Linked DNA regions of Homo sapiens: region 2 is linked to region 1. Evidence: promoter capture Hi-C in human tissues and cell types (Jung and others, 2019). All regions are on one chromosome and are shown on one strand. The core of a region is centred on a gene start or on the middle of the fragment in contact, and the rest is flanking DNA. Distances in the headings are between cores, read along the strand shown.

Region 1 (5,806 bases), core at 2,454-4,953:
GAGACGAAGTGTCCCCCAGCAGAAGTAATGGCCAAACAATAATGACATCCCAAATAAGGGATTTTAGCTACTTTCCAAGTCCCAGAGGCTACAAAAAGGGAGAAGATTCTCTTTTTCTAATTAATTAACCAGCTATATTAGATATATTATTGGGAGTTGACTAAGATTGTGAGTTTTAGTCGTGTTAGGAAGGAGGTATTATATTTTGTCTTGACGAGTAAATTTAAATATATGCACGCCAAACAGTAAATTTCACCTGAGGTGTTTGTGTTTGGTGCACTGATCCAGGTGTGCCAGCTGGCATTATGCAGTAGACACCTAGGTAAAAACATTTACTGTTCCCCAGTTATGGCACCCACATATCTCAGCTGCCTTTCAGCTAGGCAGGGCATGTGACTGGCTTTGGCCAGTCATCAGCCAGGAGGCTGAAGTGGGAGAATTGCTTGAGCCTGGGAGATCAAGGCTGCAATCCGTGGTGAGTAGAAATGATTGTGTCAAAGTCCAGACTAAACATACAAAAAGGTTGTGAGTTCTCTGCACTCTATTCTTCAGCAGTACAGTGGAGGCCCTCTTTTTTCTCATGTTGCAGCCACAAGATGTTGGGGCCTGAGTTCTTCAGTGGCTGTGTGGTGCAAACCTCCCGCTGACTCTCAGTGGACATAAAACATAAGAAATCTAAACATAGCTGTATTAATACATTGAGATTTTGGAGTTCTATGTTACTGCATCATAGCCCAACTCCTCTTGAGCAAATATAGCTGCACCTGTCACTGGGGTGGAGATCAGATCCCTACAGTCAGTCACCTTTGGAGGTGGACCATGGCTTAGAGAAAACAAGTTTCTTCATGCATGGATGCTTAAAGTATAATGAGAATGGAGATGGGGTTATAGAGTATTACCTCTGGTTTCATGTCAATCATGGCTAGTTACTCCTTGGGCAATTTGTTGGAATGGTTCTGTGAGAAAATAAGCAAAATTCCTCATGCATTTTTTAAGTCTATGGGAATGATTGATGTGCACTATGTCTACTACTGAGGCCTAGTCACAGATGTAATTATGATCATTACTTTAGGGCACATCTTCTGGAATAACAAGTCAATTGTAAACAAAAGTATACATGGTGCCAAGTGTGGAGGCTTGTGCCTAGAATTCCAGCAACTCAGGAGGCTGAGGCAGGAGGATGGCTTGAGGCCAGGAGTTGGAGACCAGCTTGGGCAACATAATGAGGTCTCATCTCTACAAAAAGTAAAAAAAAAAAAAAAAAAAATTGCCAGGCATGATGGTTTATACCTATATAGAAAGAAACCTGGCTGGCCACTGTGGCTCACACCTGTAATCCCAGCACTTTAGGAGACTGAAACAGGAGAACTGCTTGAGTCCAGGAGTTTGAGACAAGCCTGGGCAACATAGTGAGGCTCCATCTCTATAAAGAATAAAATTTTAGCCTGGTGTGGTGGCACACACCTGTAGTCCCAACTACTCAGGAGGCTGAGGTGGGAGGATTGCTTGAGCCTGGGAGATCAAGGCTGCAATAGCCATGATTGTGCCACTGCACTCAGCTTGGGTGACAGAGTGATACCCTATCTTAGAATAAAAAAAGAAAAAATAAAGCCCTTTTCTTTATAAATTACCCAGTCTCAGGTATAGAAACAAATTAAGACAGTGGATTAATGCCCCAGCCTCCAACCTGCAGTAGAACAATTCTGAGATGCCTTCCACACAGTTTCTCAGAATACTCACAGCAATTGAGCTCCCATTGTCCACTGTGGTCATCTACTCATTAATCTACCCTCTTTTTTTTTTTTTTTTTTTTTTTGAGACAGGGTCTCCCTCTGTCACCTAAGCTGGAGTGTAGTGGTGTGAGTTCAGCTCACTGCAGCCTTGATCTCCCAGGCTCAAGCGACCCCTCCAGCTCAGCCTCCTCAGTAGCTGAGGTACTACAGGTACTACAGTGACTACAGGTACTACAGTGACTACAGGTACACACCATGACACCTGGCTAAGTCTTGTTTATTTTTGTAGAGACAGGGTCTTGCTATCATGCTAGGACTGGTCTTGAACTCGTGGGCTCAATCAATCCTCCCACCTTGGCCTCCCAAAGTGCTGGGATTACAGGTGTGAGGCACTGTGCCCAGTTCTTTCTTAACCTTTCTATCTTCTCTATCTCATTTTTGCCTCCCCAACATGTGCTTCCTGGGATCACCTCACAAACCAATTGGACTCAAGGCTTTGTCTCAGGATCTCTATTATTCAAGGTTCTCCAAAGACACAGGCCTGTAGGATATATATATGTGTGTATATATAGGATATATATTGGCTCATGTGATTGTGGAGACCAGCAGGTCCAAAATCCGCAGGGCCAATGTCCCAGTCCAAAGGTTGTCAGGCAGAAAGAGCTGATGTGCCAGTTGAAAGGCCCTTGGGCAGGAGAATTCTCTCTTCCGTGGGGAAGGTCAGCATTTTGCTTTATTTCTGCCTTCAACTGATTAGATGAGGCCCAGCCACATCGTAGACGGCAATCAGCTTTACTCAATATACCAATTTAAATGTTAATCTCATCAAAAAACACCCTCACAGAAACACTCAGAATACTATTTGACCAAATATCTGGGCATCCCATGGCCCAGTAAAGTTGACACATAAAATTAACCCTCACAGACACCAAGTGTAGTTCATCATTTTGGAAAATATTCACCTTATAGCAAGAATGGAAACCTCTAAGTAGAGTATTTTATGTGAACCATTCAACCTCAGGAATCATACATTTCACTCACTGATCCCTTGTTCACATTCCAGTGTATAAAACTCTGGTCCCCATTAAGGAGACACTCCAGTCCTCAGGGAAAATCAGACCTGGCACTGTCGTCCATGAGTATGAGACGGGAAGAGCTGTGGTCCAGGATGGAACGGAAGTCATACTGCACATACCAGGTGTTCAGTAAATGCTCCGATCTTCAGGTGCGCGTTGTCTCTCTCTCTCTCTCTCTCGAGTAGACACTTAATTCAACTAACGGGAGGCTGGCCAGTTGTTTCACCACCTATCCTACTTTCCCCAGCTCTTGTGTGGTTCCCAAAGCCCCTAGCAGTAGCCAAAACGGGGGCCCCAACTGCTGTCGCTGTCCCTGGTGCTGACTAAACCCTAAAGCCTCTGCGTTGCGGCCTTGGGGCCATTGGTGGTGCCGAGTTATTCTTTTATTTTCTTTCTGTTCTTTTCTTTTTTTCTTTTCTTCTCGTTGCTGCCCTTGGTGCTGCCCAATTATTCTTTTCTTTTCTTCTCCTCTCCCTCTCTCTCTTTTCTTTCTCTCTCTTTCTTTCTTTTTCTCTTTTTCTTTCTTTCCTCAAGAAAATGCTGCAGATTTAGAGAGTGACTTTGAAGCATAGACTAGACTTCGAGGATGAACATGACATTTTGGCTCTCTGTGTATCCCCATTCACACTGAAGAATCAACAACACTTCCTTGCTGATCAATAGTCCCAGAACTGGTGGCACAGCCAGGACCGACGCTGATGCTTACCTCCCCCTCTCCTGCAGCAGAGACGCCCCCGTCCCTGTGGCCCAGGGAAGTGCCAGGGATCCCTGGGAAGGCGGGAGATGGGGAAGGGGCAGGGTGAGCGAAGAGGAGCAGGCTGCGTCTGCACGCGGGCTGGGAAGCGGGGCTTCCGGGCCGCAGGGTCGCGGGGACGGGTGTGATGCAATCGCGCCACAGCCGCTGCGTCAAGGGGCGGCTCCGGGATGCGGGCACTGCGGTAGAGCCCGTCCTGCCCCCGCCGCCCGCCGCCCGCCGCCCGCCTCCGCTGCTAAACCCGCGGACAACCGCCGGGACGACCACCCAGAGCCACCAGAGCCCCCTGACACCCGCCCCGAGGCACCGGTAACCCACGGCACCCGCCCCGGTGCGTGCCATGAAGTCGGCCGCGAGCTCGCGCGGGGGCGGTGGGGGCGGCCGCGGGGGCGGCGGCTGGGGCAGCTGGGGCGGGGGCCGAGGCGGCGGCGGCGGCGCGGGCAAGGGCGGCGGGGGCGACGGCGGCGGCCAGGGGGGCAAGGGCGGCTTCGGGGCGCGGGCGCGCGGCTTCGGCGGGGGCGGCCGGGGCCGGGGGCGCGGCGGCGGCGACGGCAAGGATCGCGGCGGCGGTGGACAGCGGCGGGGCGGCGTGGCCAAGAGCAAGAGCCGCCGCAGGAAGGGCGCCATGGTGGTGTCGGTGGAGCCGCACCGGCACGAGGGCGTCTTCATCTACCGCGGGGCGGAGGACGCGCTGGTCACGCTGAACATGGTGCCGGGCCAGTCTGTGTACGGCGAGAGGCGCGTCACGGTGACCGAGGGCGGCGTGAAGCAGGAGTACCGCACGTGGAACCCGTTCCGCTCTAAGCTGGCCGCGGCCATCCTGGGCGGGGTGGACCAGATCCACATCAAGCCCAAGTCCAAGGTGCTGTACCTGGGCGCCGCGTCGGGCACCACCGTCTCCCATGTCTCCGACATCATTGGCCCAGACGGCCTGGTCTACGCCGTCGAGTTCTCCCACCGCGCCGGCCGCGATCTGGTCAACGTGGCCAAGAAGCGCACCAACATCATTCCGGTCCTGGAGGACGCGCGGCACCCGCTCAAGTACCGCATGCTCATCGGGATGGTGGACGTGATCTTCGCCGACGTGGCCCAGCCGGACCAGTCCCGCATCGTGGCCCTGAACGCCCACACCTTCCTGCGCAATGGGGGCCACTTTCTCATCTCCATCAAGGCCAACTGCATCGACTCCACCGCATCCGCCGAGGCTGTGTTTGCTTCTGAGGTGAGGAAGTTGCAGCAGGAGAACTTGAAGCCTCAAGAGCAGCTGACCCTGGAGCCCTATGAGCGGGACCACGCTGTGGTGGTCGGGGTCTACCGACCTCTTCCCAAGAGCAGCAGCAAATAGCACCCAGCTCAGGCTCGCCTGCCATCTCCCCAAGGCTGCGTTGTGTTTGCTATTATTTTCTGTGTGTTTTCTTTGTGAGTGTTTTGTTTTGTTGTTTTTCTATTAAACTGCATAAAGAAACGGCACCTATCTGTATGGTGATGCCAGGCTAGGTTTTGCTGCAGTAACAATCAACCCCCAAATCCCAGTGGCCTAAACCGGCTGGTATAAGGGGCCCATCCAGCAGTAGCCTGGGAGCTGTGCTCATTCTAATCACTCAGGTCTCCAACTCCCCAGGGCCCCATTTTCACACATGCTCCCCCCATCCCTAGGGCAGAGGAAAGAGAGCTGCGGAATTGCTAATAAAAGCTTTTAAATGTCCCCTTGGAACTGATGGGGCACTTCTGCTCACATTTGGCCAAGTCACATGACCCAGCCTGACTCGGGAAAAACACTGAATGTTGGTGGACAATAATATAGTCAAACACACCAATCATCTGACTCACAGCCAAAGTCTTAACCACAATAGGTTTTTAGTATTTTACTCTTCAACTAAGCCCTTTTGCATTCACTGTTAAAGTGAATAATAAATAAATGTTAAATTTATTCCTCACACCAGCCCTGAGATGGCTTTGTTAGCACTTGCATATTACATGTGAAGCAACAGGGCTTCTGAAGGTAAACTATTTTGCCCAAACGTACATAGCCAGTAAGGAGGTAGAACTTAAATGCCAGTCTTCGGGGCTCTAAATCCATTGCTGTTTCCTCAGCACCAGGGGGATCTTGTCTCTGGTCCCCAACCCCTATGGCATGTGCACAGGGACACACTTAGAGCAGGGCCCTGTGACCTTATTGTGTTCTTTCGCCCTCCCCTGTCCCCCCCGGGCTACCCCTTTGTTTGGTTTCACAATAGCAAAAC
Region 2 (5,806 bases), core at 2,686-5,185, 1.1 Mb after region 1:
GGATAGTGGTCCAATTATGAGACCAAACTTACCTTAACATATTGGAAGCTTAGCATACAACAACTGAACAGTTTTCTGATGGTGAACTGTTTAGAAGCAAAATTAAATGTATTCTATTCCACTCTTTAATTTTTGATCCCAAATCAGTAACAGAATTGTCAGAACAGTTCTTGCTCTTGGAACAAGAATGCAAATTTGACTACTTATTAGTCAGGAAGAAAATTTTAATGTTTTTATACGACAGTAGTATTGAGTAGATATGTTTCTTCTGTTATTGATATTATTGCATGGAGTTTTTTGTATAAGCTTAAGTAGTTTTATTTCCTCTATTTACAGTTGGCTAAAAAAAAGAAAAGAACATGGAGGCAGATATAATCACAAATCTTCGATGCAGGCTCAAAGAGGCTGAAGAAGAGCGACTAAAAGCTGCACAGTATGGTTTACAACTAGTAGAGAGTCAAAATGAATTACAGAATCAATTGGATAAATGTCGTAATGAAATGATGACCATGACTGAGGTAGGACTCTGGACTCCTCTGTCTGCAAGAGTGTGCTTAGCTATTGAAGATTTGTCCTGTTTAGCAATTAATAGTAGTAGTAGTTTATTCTTTTCTGAAGATTTTAGATCTAGTTCCCGCCCTGCCCCGTCCCTGTTAAAAAAGAATGAACTAAATGAATTCCTGTTATTCTTTCCACCCTAGTGTATTCAGAGTTTGAAAGATCAAGTTATCATTACTCTCTTTGCCACATTTACTACCAGATTTTGCTTTGTCTGCACACTTCCTAGAAGACCTCACTTGTTTTAGACCTCTAAACATCTAAGTGCCCCATGACACTACACCAAGCCCTTAGTTCCCCCATGAAATCTAGGTTTGTGTTCAACTGCCCACTAATAGACTTCTCAAACTTAACACAGACAGAAGAGTGGATTCCCTGTCCGTTAACCAAATATTCTTTTACGATTTTTTTTAGCTTATTTAGTAAATATAATAGCATTCAGTTTCTTGAACACCAAAAATCTTTATATACCAAAGATTTTTGGTATATTTTTGGTTTCTTTATATACCAAAAATCTAGAACTTTTAGTCAATATCTTCCCTTTATTTCTCACATTTCACTCATTAATAAGTTCTAAGAACTAGACTACAAAGCATGTATCTTTGCTACTGGCACTGTAGTCCAGATCACCATCATCACTCCTAGACAAGTATTGTAGCCTTCTGGCCGGGTTGCCTGCTTCCATTGTTGCCATTCATGCCATTCATTCTTCACTCAGCGTCTAAGTGGTCGTGGAATAACACACCAAAGGTCATGCCACAGCCCTGCTAAAAACCATACAACAGCTTCTGATTTTATTTACAACAAAATCTGAGCTCCATCCTTGGGTTTGTAGATCCCTATGTGACCTGACCCCTGCCAAGCTTCTGACCTCACCTCAAACTGCTTTGCCTTGTTCTTGACTATACTGGTCCTCCCTTATGGGCTTTACACCAGCTATTGCCTTTTTTTTTTTTTTGAGTTGTTTACCCCTCACTGCTCTTGGGTTGAGTCCTCAGATTTCAGCTTTCATTTAAATGTCACTTCAGCGGAGAGGTCAGCCCTTACTATGTAATGTAAAGTTGCCCTGATTCACTTTTTTTTTCTTTTTTCTTTTTTTTTTTTGAAACAGGGTCTCACTCTGTCGCCCAGGCTGGAGTGCAGTGGCGCAATCTTGGCTCACTGCATCCTCCACCTCCTGGGTTCAAGAGATTCTCCTACCTCAGCCTTCCGAGTAGCTCGGGGTTACAGATGTGTGCCACCACATCCGGCTAATTTTTGTGTTTTTAGTAGAGATGGGGTTTCACCATGTTGACCAGGCTGGTCTTGAACTCCTGGCTTCACGTAATCTGCCTGCCGAAGTGCTGGGATTACAGGCATGAGCCGTTGTGCCCGGCCCTGATTCCACTCTTAATTATCTGCATTGCTAATTATCTCTAGATTATAAACTCCATGAGAGAGGGAATTTTGTATGCCTTGTTCACTATCCTGAATGCCTGCCACACGATTATTTCTTAAAAGAATGAATGAATAAATCTGGGTAATTTAGCAAATGCTCAGTAACATATTTAAACTTGAATCTCAACATTGTAAATATGGCAGGTAAAAAATATCTGTAGCAGGTAAAAATAACTAGTGATGGCAACCTTTGTGTTTCTACATAGTACTGTTGTAAACCAAGAACTGAGTGCAAAGTCATAAAGGCAAAGTAAAGATTACAAATATCACTAATAGAAAATAAAACTGTTATACTTAATCATTTTGAGTCATAACTTGTCAAATTTCAGTGTTTAACAGTTAATACTCTTTGTCTTCCTTTAAAATAAAATGGTTTTTGAGGGGAATATTTTATCATTTTTTAAAGCCTCTTGAAGGAGTTCGTACTTGTAACATTTTTAATGTCTAAACTTCCCTGTGAGTAAGCAAAAGCCCTTTTAATTACTCCTTTTGTCTCAGCTCTGCATTCATTCTGATAGACCTTTTGTGACATTTCTCAGATGACTACATTCTGAAAGTAAAGGCTAATTCAGTATTTCTTTTTTTTCAACTATTATTACTACTACATTGTGTTCAGAGCTACAAGTAGAGCATCTCATTATCAAACTAATAATTCTCATGAGGAAAGCTTAAGTGCTGTTAAATCTTTTTTTGTTGTTAGCAGAGATTACTTGACTTGACGTGTTGACATACCATGGAGCACATTTTACTTCCTTGACAAGGCACAGAAGCAGTAAGGTATCCCTTGCATGGGTTTAACATAGTTTCGAAATACACCTCAGGGGTTTATTAAGACTGATTAACTACAAAGTTATTCCAGGTTTAACATGTCTTCGTTATTTGGAAAGCAGCAAATGCTTGAAATAAGAATGAAACAATTGAAGTTGAAAACTGATTGTATGTAATGGCTTTAGGCTATTTTTATGTAATTGAATTGTAATTGAATCTGTTTTCAGAGTTATGAACAAGAAAAATATACCCTTCAAAGAGAAGTTGAACTCAAGAGTCGAATGTTAGAAAGTTTGAGCTGCGAATGTGAAGCTATTAAACAACAACAAAAAATGCACCTGGAGAAATTGGAAGAACAACTAAGCAGAAGCCATGGACAGGAAGTGAATGAACTAAAAACTAAGGTTGGGATATCTGCGTATTTCAGCACAAAATATTCCATATTTATGCAGCCATCTGTAAACTTTAGATGATAAAGATTTTCTTAAGTGTCAGCTTTGCAAAATAGCCAAGATCTAAGTCTTCATTATCTTAATATTGGGGGTGGGAACACTGAGATACAAGAGTTTGTCTAAGGGACTTGTATAAATTATATCCTATTAATTAAATACAATTATTTAATTTTGGTTGCTGGATATTTGTGAAGGTTTAGTTTAGTGACTAGCATGGCCTCCTTGCTGATAGTGGGTACAGCAGCCCCTTGCAGAAAGCCTCGTCTCCTAGCCTTCCCTGCAGTCAGTGGTATGCTTTGTAATTCTGTAAAACAGACCAGTAGTTTCTTACTAGTTAATGTGCATTACAAATGACACTTTATAGTTTGTTTACTGAGGATAAACTAATACATGTGCTCCAGTTCTTACAATAATATTGTGGAAAGGTACCATTATCATTTCCATATACCAGATGAAAGAGCCAGTGTTTAGACAGACTGAGTAAATTGGACACAATTCAAGAACTAGAAATTCTCCATCTAGGTTTGAACTGAGGCTGTCTGACTCCAAAGGCTGTGTTACTGAATCACTACATAGTCTAACAGCATGTTACACTGGCTCCATTTCAAACATAAACGCAAGATAAATGATTGGTCAGTGGTTTTCCCTTTTCCCAGCTAGCCAGTGCTTTCAGGTTGCTTCTGAGGAATCCAGAACTTTTTATCATGGATCTGCTTTGTGTATAGTCTATACTCTGACTTTTCCAGACACTGTCTACCAAAACTTGCCTGACTTTTGTCCTCCTTTCTCAGAAGTCTGTTACCCAATTTTCAGCTTCTTGTATAGCAGCCTCTAAGATTTTTCTTTTTCTGTATACCACCTATACTATTACTTAATTTCTCATTGACTCTCTTTTAATGTTTACTGATTTTAAGAAACATCAATGAAAGTATTTTTTTTTCCTTTTTTTTTTTTTTTTTTTTGAGGCAGAGTCTCACACTGTCGCCCAGGCTGGAGTGCAGTGGCATGATCTCGGCTCACCTGCAACCTCTGCCTCCCGGGTTCAAACGATTCTCCTGCCTCAGGCTCCTAAGTGGCTGGGATTACAGGTGTGCGCCACCACGCCCAGCTAATTTTTGTATTTTAATAGAGACAGGGTTTCACCATGTTGGTCAGGCTGGTCTCTAACTCCTGACCTCGTGATCCGCCCACTTCAGCCTCGCAAAGTGCTGGGATTACAGGCCTGAGCCACTGCGCCTGGCCAAAATTACATATTTAAGCTTGCTTATTTTTTCCCAGTATACACTAAAACAAACATAGCTATCTAAATATACCTTCATGTAATATATAATCATCTTGCATACCACTCTGACAGATAATATCATCCAGCTTGTCTGAAACTAGTCGGATTTGAGGCCCTAATGACTGATAATGATGTGCTTTCTTCCCCCTCTGGTTGTTATTTTTATTTTTGCAATAGTTTTCATCACCTAAACAAAAAAGAGTAATAAAGGGAGTATTCAGGACTGAGGTAAGGCTAATTATAGAGATGGCTTTTTTTTTTTTTTTTTTTTTTGGTGGAGCAAAGAGTACATTAGTGAAATATTTTGTTTTACTGATTTTCTCAAATCACTTATGCCAAAATTTGGATTTTTTTAATACCTTTTCTTCTCTTATTTTTCACATTTAATTCATCAAGTTCTAAGAACTTGACCTACAAAACATCTATGACGCTACTGCCACTCCAATCCAGACCTTCATCATCTCTTTCCTGGACTACTGCTGTAGCCTTCTGACCAGGTTGCTTGCTTCCATTGTTTCTCTTCATGCCAGTCATTCTTCACACAGTAGCCAAGTGGTCCGCATCATAGTGCCTCCAGATTGCTTCTGAGGCATCCAGACCCACCCCGATTACTCATGGATTATTTCTATGTTTATTAAACAAGGTGTGTCACTAGCTGTTAAAAGATGCCTAACCTTGGGCAAATAGGAAACTCCAATAGTATCATCATTCAGTAAGTTTGGTTCAATCAGTTCAATCAGTGATTGTTTTTAGAAAGAAAATAACTTTCAATTTATGACTTTTTTTTTTTTGGCTTTAGATAGAAAAACTGAAAGTGGAATTAGATGAAGCCAGGCTTAGTGAAAAGCAGCTGAAGCACCAAGTAGATCATCAGAAGGAACTCCTCTCTTGTAAATCAGAGGAACTGCGCGTAATGTCTGAACGTGTGCAGGAAAGCATGTCTTCAGAGATGCTGGCTCTTCAAATTGAGCTGACAGAAATGGAGAGTATGAAGGTAATTTTTATGGCATGTGTTTCTCAGGGTTTTCTCTTTTTTTTTCTGGCATATTTTTACATGTTTTGGTAATAATTCTTAAGAGCTAGTTTGAAGGCTGAAACATTTTTTGACCTAACTTGCATCTAACTAATTAAAAAATGGGTTTTTTTTAGGTGGATGACTTCATTCATAATATAGCTTTAGACTATATGATTATGTAAGGCAGCCTTTCTCTTAGATTAATGAAACGTCTGGAAGAATTTAGAGGCATATACTCTGATCCCAGATTTTATCGTAAGAGCCCAGTGTAAAACGTTGGCTCAGTGGAAGTTG

What was found. Contacts are between HindIII fragments. The study calls those that stand out against the background at their distance.
Region 2: a fragment that was not itself captured here is called in contact with the fragment with the promoter of FBLL1 in region 1 in 1 of the 25 tissues and cell types used here (spleen).

Annotation. Positions count from the first base shown.
Region 1 is chr5:168,525,602-168,531,407 of GRCh38, forward strand. FBLL1 (fibrillarin like 1) reads left to right here and starts at 3,704. Exons shown (of 1, transcript NM_001355274.2): 1 at 3,704-5,033. The coding sequence starts at 3,904. The coding sequence ends at 4,908. RefSeq lists a silencer at 2,863-3,157 and enhancers at 4,011-4,552, 5,408-5,577. The HindIII fragment of the contact is 8,115 bases long and covers 1-5,806 here.
Region 2 is chr5:169,588,058-169,593,863 of GRCh38, forward strand. SPDL1 (spindle apparatus coiled-coil protein 1) reads left to right here. Exons shown (of 12, transcript NM_017785.5): 2 at 337-518; 3 at 2,991-3,167; 4 at 5,297-5,491. The coding sequence starts at 360. Among named protein-coding and RNA genes, the nearest start is that of SPDL1, 7.2 kb to the left of the region's middle. The HindIII fragment of the contact is 6,144 bases long and covers 864-5,806 here.